Linked DNA regions of Homo sapiens: all the other regions are linked to region 3. Evidence: promoter capture Hi-C in 16 types of primary human blood cells and fetal thymus (Javierre and others, 2016). All regions are on one chromosome and are shown on one strand. The core of a region is centred on a gene start or on the middle of the fragment in contact, and the rest is flanking DNA. Distances in the headings are between cores, read along the strand shown. Region 1 overlaps ZRSR2 (zinc finger CCCH-type, RNA binding motif and serine/arginine rich 2). Region 2 holds the start of ZRSR2 (zinc finger CCCH-type, RNA binding motif and serine/arginine rich 2). Region 3 holds the start of PIGA (phosphatidylinositol glycan anchor biosynthesis class A).

Region 1 (2,700 bases), core at 85-2,584, 470 kb before region 3:
TGGTCAAAGCAGAGGATGATCAGCTGGGAAAACGAGAGCAGCAGCAAGAAGGCAGCAGATGTCTGATGACGGACATTTGAAATGGAAACATGCGCCTCTCCCAAAAGGGGAACTCAAAAACGTCAGCATTTTGAATCACTTCATTCTGACATGATAAAACAAAATTAGTTACCTATCTCCAAATCTGCAAGCTCCTGTTTTACTGTAGAAGGGACAATTAGCTCGATCCTTCTCCATTACTCTGAAATCCACGGGTGGTTCTGGGTTTTGCCATGTGGTACCATTTTCCAACTGTTGAAAATAACCATGACTTTACTGGTGGAGTAAAAACCCATGAAAGACGAAATGTTTCAAAGTATATTAAAATATTTTCCTCAAAGATAAACATTGTTTCATTTAATAATGCAAACATTTAAGTTGGAACAGGCAATCAAGACTTTACAAACAACGGTACTGAGACATGAGCTCCATGTCTCTCTTGGCTCCTGGTCACTTTCCTTTATCTGGTATCACTACTGCCACCAGGGGCAGTCGCCAAGGTTTCCATCCATTCTAAAAAGGGTCCAAGAAGGCCGGGTGCAGTGGCTCACGCCTGTAATCCCAGCACTTTGGGAGGCCGAGGTGGGTGGATCACCTGAGATCAGGAGTTCAAGACCAGCCTGACCAACATGGAGAAACCCCATCTCTACTAAAAATATAAAATTAGCTGGGCGTGGTGGTGCACACCTATAATCCCAGCTACTTGGGAGGCTGGGGCAGGAGAGTTGCTTGAACCCGGGAGGCGGAGGTTGCAGTGAGCCGAGATCATACCACTGTACTCCAGCCTGGGCAACAAGAGCAAAACTCCGTCTCAAAAAAAAAAAAAAGAAAAAAAGAGAAAAAAAAGGGTCCAAGAACTTATTAGGGAACCACCACAGACAGAAATAGAAGTTACTCTGATTCAAGGTAAACCGTCCACTGGAGGCTAACGGTATGTGATGTTGCTTAAACATACTGTAAGGACTCTAAACAGGTCCAGTCCACAGGGGTCATGAATACCATTTGTATTTGTTCATCAATAAAGTTTGTTGTTGTTGTATAAATCAAAGCATCATAAACATGAGTCCAGATATCCAAACATGATCTAACTAACCTACCACGAAACTAACATTACTGGAACTATTATTTCTAAGGAAACATTAATTGGTCTCAAATTATCAATGTAAGGTTTTAAAAATACCTCATTTTCAGCCTGATCCAGCATCTTCTGCAAAGCTTCCTAAAATGGTGCAAACACAGGACTAATAAAAACCCAGAAGTCAGGTAAGTCACATCTGGTTTCTCTGGTTAAGAATCTCAAGTGGAACAATTAAAACACACACACGCACACAAGTTCTAGTTTTCTTTTGAATCACAGATCTTTTGAAAAGCTTTCAAAGGATATATAGCTGAGACTTTTCTCTTTTTTTTTTGAGACAGGGTCTCACTCTGTCACCCAGGCTGGAGTGCAGTGGCGTGACCTCAGCTCACTGCAACCTCCGCCTCCCAGGCTCAAGTGATCCTCCCACCTCAGCCTTCCGAGTAGCTAGGACTACAGGCGCACACCACCACGCCTGGATAACTTTTGTATTTTCTGTAGAGACGGAGTTTCACCATGTTGCCCAGGCTAGTCTCGAACTCCTGAGCTCAAGCAATCCACCCGCCTCAGCCTCCCAAAGTGCTGGGATTACAGGCATGAGCTACCGTGCCCGGCCCATAGCTGAGACGTTCTATTCAAATAGAAAATTTACCAGATCACATTGCAAAATATTTAAAATAGTCTTATAATAGTTTCAATAATAGTAATACTTAGTATATTTGAGTATATATACCATGTCCTAGTTCGTAAAAGGGGGTATTAGTGAATATAAAACACAATGCTAGGCCGGGCATGGTGGCTCACACCTATAATCCTAGCACTTTGGGAGGCTGAGGCGGGTGGATCACTTGAGGTCAGGAGTTCTAGACCAGCCTGGCCAAGACGGTGAAACCCCGTCACTACTAAAAATACAAAAATTAGCCAGGTGTGGTGGCACGTGCCTGTAATCCCAGCTACTTGGGAGGCTGAGACAGGAGAATCGCTTGAACCCAGGAGGCAGAGGTTGCAGTGAGCCGAGATGACGCCACTGCACTCCAGCCTAGGCGACAGAGCAAGACTCTGTCTAAAAAAAAACGAACAAACAAACAAACGAAAAAACCCAAAAAACAATGCTAGATGAAATCATAAACATTTAGCAGAAGCTAAAATATGACATGACCAGTGGTAATTAGCATTTAGGAGAAAATTCTAACTTTTTAATAAGGCAAAGGAGGTTCTGCAATATGCCAGTAAATTTCTACCTAATTGGCATTTGAACAAGTTGTACCTATGTTTAACAGACAGTCTTATCTTCCCTAGCCCCTTAAAGCATTACATAAGACTCGTATGTCTAGTTGCTTATTTGTGGTGCTCAAAACAGAACTCTTGTCCTCTACACTCCCTGGCCCACATCCACCTGAATGCTCCCTCAGTGAATAGTGTTGCCAGTCTATCTGTCTATTCAAACTAAAAACCTAAAAATATGACTTGAATTCCTCTCTCTCTCCTTGTCCTCTGGTCAACATGGTGAAACCCTGTCTGTACTAAAAACACAAAAAATTAGCCGGGTGTGGTGATGGGCGCCTGTAGTCCCAGCTACTCAG
Region 2 (2,700 bases), core at 67-2,566, 450 kb before region 3:
CTGTAATCCCAGCTACTCGGGAGGCTGCAGCAGGAGAACTGCTTGAACCCAGGGGGCGGAGGCTGCAGTGAGCCAAGATCGTGCCACTGCACTCCAGCCTGGGCAACAGAGCGAGACTCCGTCTCAAAAAAAAAAAAAAAAAAAAAGAAAAGAAAAGAAAAAATTAGCCAGGTGTGGTGGTGAATGCCTGTAGTCCCAGCTACTAGGGAGGCTGAGGTGGGAGGACTGCTTGAGCCTGGGAGGTGGAGGCTGCTGTGAGCCGTGGTTGTGCACATCCCTCCTGGGCAACAGAACAAGACCCTGTCTCAAAAATAAATAAATGAGCTTCATAACTAGTATTATGTTGATATATATTTGAATAACATAATAATTTGGGTAAACCAAGGGTCTCATATTAGTCAAGTTTGAGAAAAACTTGCAAAACGTCTAATTAATACCTTCAACTCCTGCTGGTTTTACGAAGAAAAACATTCACCGAATACTTACTACGTGTGCAAGGACTGTGCTAGCTGCTGTAATTCATGAAGCTTGCAACTGTAATATTAGATACTTTATAAGTTACACAGAATCAGTGGGCGATCATTCACCAAGACTTCCTCTTCCTGCCTTTAGTATGTTAACATTGTTTCTGACATGTGTTTCTAAATAACTACTTGGGGGCAGAAGTCACAGCTATTTTTCCTCCGACACAATATTTGACTTCCTTCTGACACTGGGGCTTCAAGTTAGGGCTGGAGTGGACAGAGCAATTTCACAACACAGAAAACAGAATAAAGAGTCCATCACCTGAGTCTCTCAGTCGAGCAAGTTCCTGCCGACGTTTCTTTCGTTTCTCCTTCTTCAGGGCGGCCCTGTACTTTTTGTGGCTGGAAGATTAAGACATATACACGACGATCAGCGGCTACAATGCAGCGCTGCCCGAGCTCCCCGCTCCTCTGTGCCCAATGAAAGGAAATAGTTCGGGTGCTGAGGAGAGAAACCTTGCTTCCTGTATTTTAATTACAGAACAGCCATCTATCATCGCCTCATCCTCCCACTCCCAGACAGTTCTTCTCCATCCGCCAACCTGATCCTCTCCTCGCTTGCCTGAGCCACAGCCGCCCGTGCAAGTCCGGGGAGGGCACCAGAGCGCGCACCAGGAAGGAATGGAGCTGCCGCGGTGGCTCACTTAGCTTGGCCCAGCTTCTCTTTTCTTCCTGCCACCACATCCTCCATGCCCACGATCGGCCCGCTCGCCTGCTCATCTCCCCGTACGGCGCTTACCTTGGTTTCTCGGGAAACGTCATCTTCTCGGGCGCAGCCATCTTGCCGGCACCGCCCCGCCCCTCCAGGTCTGGCAGGAAAGGGCGGGCCTAAGAGTCGAGACGGGCACGCGCAGGCGCGGGTACCGAGCAACCTCCACCAGCGTGGGACTTGAAACGGAAAGCCGGAGGTACCCTTCGGCGGCTCGTCTTCCAGAACCCTGCTCAAATAAATACCTCCTTCCAGCAAAAATACTCTGGGGCTTTTACCCCGCCCTAGAAGTAATTGTCGCTTCAGCACTTGCCCAGTGCTGTATCACTGTCTCCCTCCTCGCCCTAGCAGGACGTGTTGTGGCTAGGCGGTTAAAGTCGTACTCTGCCGCTTTTCTCAGCATCCACTCATGAAGTCACATCGCGCACAGAGCTGCTCGCCCGGCTTTATTTCCGACCTGTCCAGGTTCCGCGTCCTTCCGCCGATCCACCTATCAGCGCCTCAGACAAAGCTCCAGACTTCGCTCCCTGCCAGTCACACCTGTTCTGGTCCCTTAAGCAAACCTAACTCCCAGGGCTGCAAAGCTGTTACCTCTGCCCCTGAGGAGTTTACAATCGAGGGGGCAGAGAAGAACCAATACATAATATGATGCAGGCAAAGATGAAGTTTACCTAACATAGTCCACCAAGGGATTCAGGGAGAGCTCTCTTTTTTTTCCTTTTTTCTTTTTTTTTCAGTATCACATGCGACTCAACTGCAGTATCAGGGACAGCTTTCTGATGCTAAGAGTTGAGTTTGGAAAGAAGATGCCCTTTACCCAGAAGGAGAAGGGTGGGAATGCAGTTACAGTCAGATCAGCATAAGCAAAGGCGCTGAAAGGTGAAAGTGGAATATGCTGGGAACAGCAAGAATTTTGGCAATCGAATTTATTTATTTATTCATTTCTTATATATTAGAGACAGGGTCTTGTCTTTCACCCAGGTTGGAGTGCAGTGGCGCAATCACGACTCGCTGCAGCTTCGACCTCCTGGGGTCAAGCAATCCTTCCACCTCAGCCTCCCGAGTAGCTGGGAATACAGGCGCGAGCCACCACGCCCGCCCAGCTATCCAATTTAAAGTGCAGTTCGAGGCTGGGTGCAGCGGCTCACGCCTGTAATCCCAGCACTTTGGGAGGCCTAGGCGGGTGGATCACCTGAGGTCAGGAGTTCGTCAGCCTGGCCAACATGGTGAAACCCCGTCTCTACTAAAAATACAAAATTAGCCGGGTGTGGTGGCACATGCCTGTAGTCCCAGCTACTCTGGAGGCTGAAACAGGAGAACTGCTTGAACCCAGGAGGTGGCGGCCGCAGTGAGCCGAGATGGCACCACTGCCCTCCAGCCTGGGCAACAGAGCAAGGCTCCGTCTCAAAAAAACAAAACAAAATAAAGTGCAATTCGAGAATATCAAGGAATATAGTTGTTGTGATG
Region 3 (2,700 bases), core at 118-2,617:
TAATTCTCCGATGCTTCATCAATATTAACACAGGGCAAAGTATCGATTGCTACTCTAGTCTTACTCATCAACTCATTAATTCGCTTCAAATCTCACAACTAAAATGCTCTTTCAATGATGTTATTGCACTGTAATTTGTATAAGGTACACTCCACGAAATACTGTCAATACATTTTATTGTGAGCATCTAATATGTGTCAGGGAGTGTGCTGACATTGGGTAAAGAAATTCATGTATTAAACTAAAACTTCCTCAACATCCATTACCAAGAACAGATCCTGCCTCAGTTTACTATCTGGCAGGGAAGGCAGACATTTAACAAGCAAATACAATTTCCGTTTTCAGAAAGAAGTCCATGTGAGATCTCAAGAGACAAGTAATCAAGGATCAGGGTGAGGAGGGAGAATGCAATCAGGCAAACAACTTGAATATCATCTGATAAATGTTATACTTTGGCCAGCATGTGGCCAAAGTACTATTAAAATTAAAAAGTGAGAGTATTTCATTCTCTGGAGGCTTGGGGAAAGCATCAGAAAGGAGCAGACATTTTCAGGGATGAATAGGCTTACACTAGGCTTAATAAAATGGGTGCCAGTAACGGTGGCTGTGATGGTACTCAGAAAGGAATTTCTTCTCGAAAACGCACGTATGGCAGGGATGGGGGATTCCAAGTACCAGCTGTGACGCATGGATGACCGTCATACCACTCTCACTGATTCTTTAGCTTCCTAGTCAAGCACCATCGTAACTAGTTGAACCAGTCGAGTGGGAGTTGATATTTCAGATCAGACCTCGTATGTTTCCCTCAGAGTGTAGAATTGCCATATAAATAACAGGATGTCTAGTTAAATTTACATGTCCGATAAAAAACGAATGTGTAGTGAAGTCCCCAATATTTGGTACATGCTTGTATTAAACATCATTTGTGCTTTATCTGAAATTAAAACTTCATAGTTTCATCTGTTTTGACTTTTTGTGTATTTTTATTTATTTATCTGGCAAACGTCCCAGAGCGGTAAGAACCGGCACGGTTTTGCCGTGGCACAGCTGATTACAAACAAAAAGTCTCTCCAATCAGAAGCAAGCGCGCAGAGAACTGGCGTCCGGAATAGAGACGCTGTAACCAGGAAACCAGGGTGAGCACCCACCCTACCGTCGGCCGCTTCTAGGAGACGGGCGCAGGCGCGCGCTGACGTTACATCTCGCGCTTAAGGGTGGGGACGACAGAGCGTCTCTCTCGGACGTGACCTCAGCGCCTCTTTGTGATTGGCTGCCTCGGGGGCGCGGCCCTTGGGCGCGGACGCCCTAGATTGGTGCTGCGGAACAGCAGGGAGGGACTCCGGCTGCAGCCGCGGGAGGTCCGGACACTGGCGGCCATGGAACTCACCGGTGAGTGCGCGTCGCGCCGCCCCTCTCCAGCGCTCTGGGCCGCTTTCGGATGGGGCTGTTCTGCGCGCGTGGGATCGTGGCGGGTGGTGGAGGGGGTGAAACCGACCCGGTTCGAAGCCCGGAAGTTGGGTCGGAGGGTCTCCAGAGTAGGTTGGGGCTGAGGGTGCGTTTAGGGCGGACGCGCTGGGTTCCTTGGCTCAGGCGGGTGGGTCGAGGGACTGGGGTCTCCGGAACCCCGGGCCTGAGACCAACGTCCACTCTTTGGTTGTTTTCTTTCTCTCTTTGGGCCTGGCCATCCCCGCCATGAACCCAGCGGGGTCGCTGTCTGAGCAGGGGTATCCCCTCCTTGGCCCGAGCGTTTCCCCAGCGACCTCTCAGGGAATCAGGGAATGAAGCTCAGACAGTGCCCAGGAATTGTCGGTGGAAGTACCATTCTCTTGACCCACAACTCCTGCCAGGTCTCCCTAAGGTTCTTCAGGAACCTCTACTGCTAATGATTGCCCAGGGCTCGTTGGTCGTGGTCGAGAATTTTACGGTAATGTCTTTGCCACTTTAAGTGGCTGGGTGGGAACCTTGGACAAATCACTCAACTTGTCTGGGTTCTCATTTGTAAAACGAGAGAGGTATTCACTAGAGCTCCAAGCCTCATTTCGGCTTTAAGAGCTAAGATTCTGCGATTGTGCAGCATAATGAACTTTTATGTCAAAGATGTTTGGACTGAAAACCTGGCGGAAGTGGGCAGACTCCTCACAGAACGTTGCAGGCTAATGACAACATTTTAAATGATATCATTTGGTTCATTACTCACTGTTTTTGCTATCGTTCATCTTTTAAAACTGGTAGAACTGGAAGTTCGGGTTTAGGTGACCACAGTAAGAAAATGTTAGTTAAGCCACCTAAAAGTACAAACTTGGGGAATTTCAATATTTGGTAATATTGAATCTTAATTAGTAAACTCAGTCAACAAACACTTCTGGGGTCTTTCCGAGAGTATATTTAAAATGTAGATGAGGCCGGGCACGGTGGCTCACACCTGTAATCCCAGCACTTTGGGAGGCCGAGGCTGGTGGATCACCTGAGGTCAGGGGTTCGAGACCAGCCTGGCCAACATGATGAAACCCCGTCTCTACTAAAAATACAAAAATTAGCTGGGCTTGTGGTGTGCGCCTGTAATTCCAGCTATTCAGGAGGCTGAAGTGGGAGAATCGCTTGAACTCGGGAGGCAGAGGCTGCAGTGAGACGAGATCGCTCCACTGCACACTAGCCTGGGCAACAGAGTGAGACTCCGTCTCAAAAAAAAAAAAAAAAAAA

The links. The method cuts DNA at HindIII sites, captures the fragments that hold promoters and counts their contacts. A CHiCAGO score of 5 or more calls a contact.
Region 1: a contact is called between a fragment that was not itself captured here and the fragment with the promoter of PIGA in region 3, in 1 of 17 cell types (naive CD8 T cells). The highest score is 5.2, in naive CD8 T cells.
Region 2: a contact is called between the fragment with the promoter of ZRSR2 here and the fragment with the promoter of PIGA in region 3, in 7 of 17 cell types (fetal thymus, total CD8 T cells, naive CD4 T cells and 4 more). The highest score is 8.6, in fetal thymus.

The regions. Positions count from the first base shown.
Region 1 is chrX:15,806,791-15,809,490 of GRCh38, reverse strand. ZRSR2 (zinc finger CCCH-type, RNA binding motif and serine/arginine rich 2) reads right to left here. Exons shown (of 11, transcript NM_005089.4): 6 at 1,220-1,258; 7 at 173-291. Among named protein-coding and RNA genes, the nearest start is that of ZRSR2, 18 kb to the right of the region's middle. The HindIII fragment of the contact is 155 bases long and covers 1,257-1,411 here.
Region 2 is chrX:15,789,100-15,791,799 of GRCh38, reverse strand. It overlaps ZRSR2 (zinc finger CCCH-type, RNA binding motif and serine/arginine rich 2), which reads right to left and starts at 1,316. Exons shown (of 11, transcript NM_005089.4): 1 at 1,264-1,316; 2 at 787-866. The coding sequence starts at 1,304. RefSeq lists enhancers at 1-330, 989-1,438. The HindIII fragment of the contact is 2,263 bases long and covers 530-2,700 here.
Region 3 is chrX:15,334,190-15,336,889 of GRCh38, reverse strand. PIGA (phosphatidylinositol glycan anchor biosynthesis class A) reads left to right here and starts at 1,367. Exons shown (of 6, transcript NM_002641.4): 1 at 1,367-1,389. RefSeq lists enhancers at 1,436-1,515, 1,566-1,615. The HindIII fragment of the contact is 3,001 bases long and covers 1-2,700 here.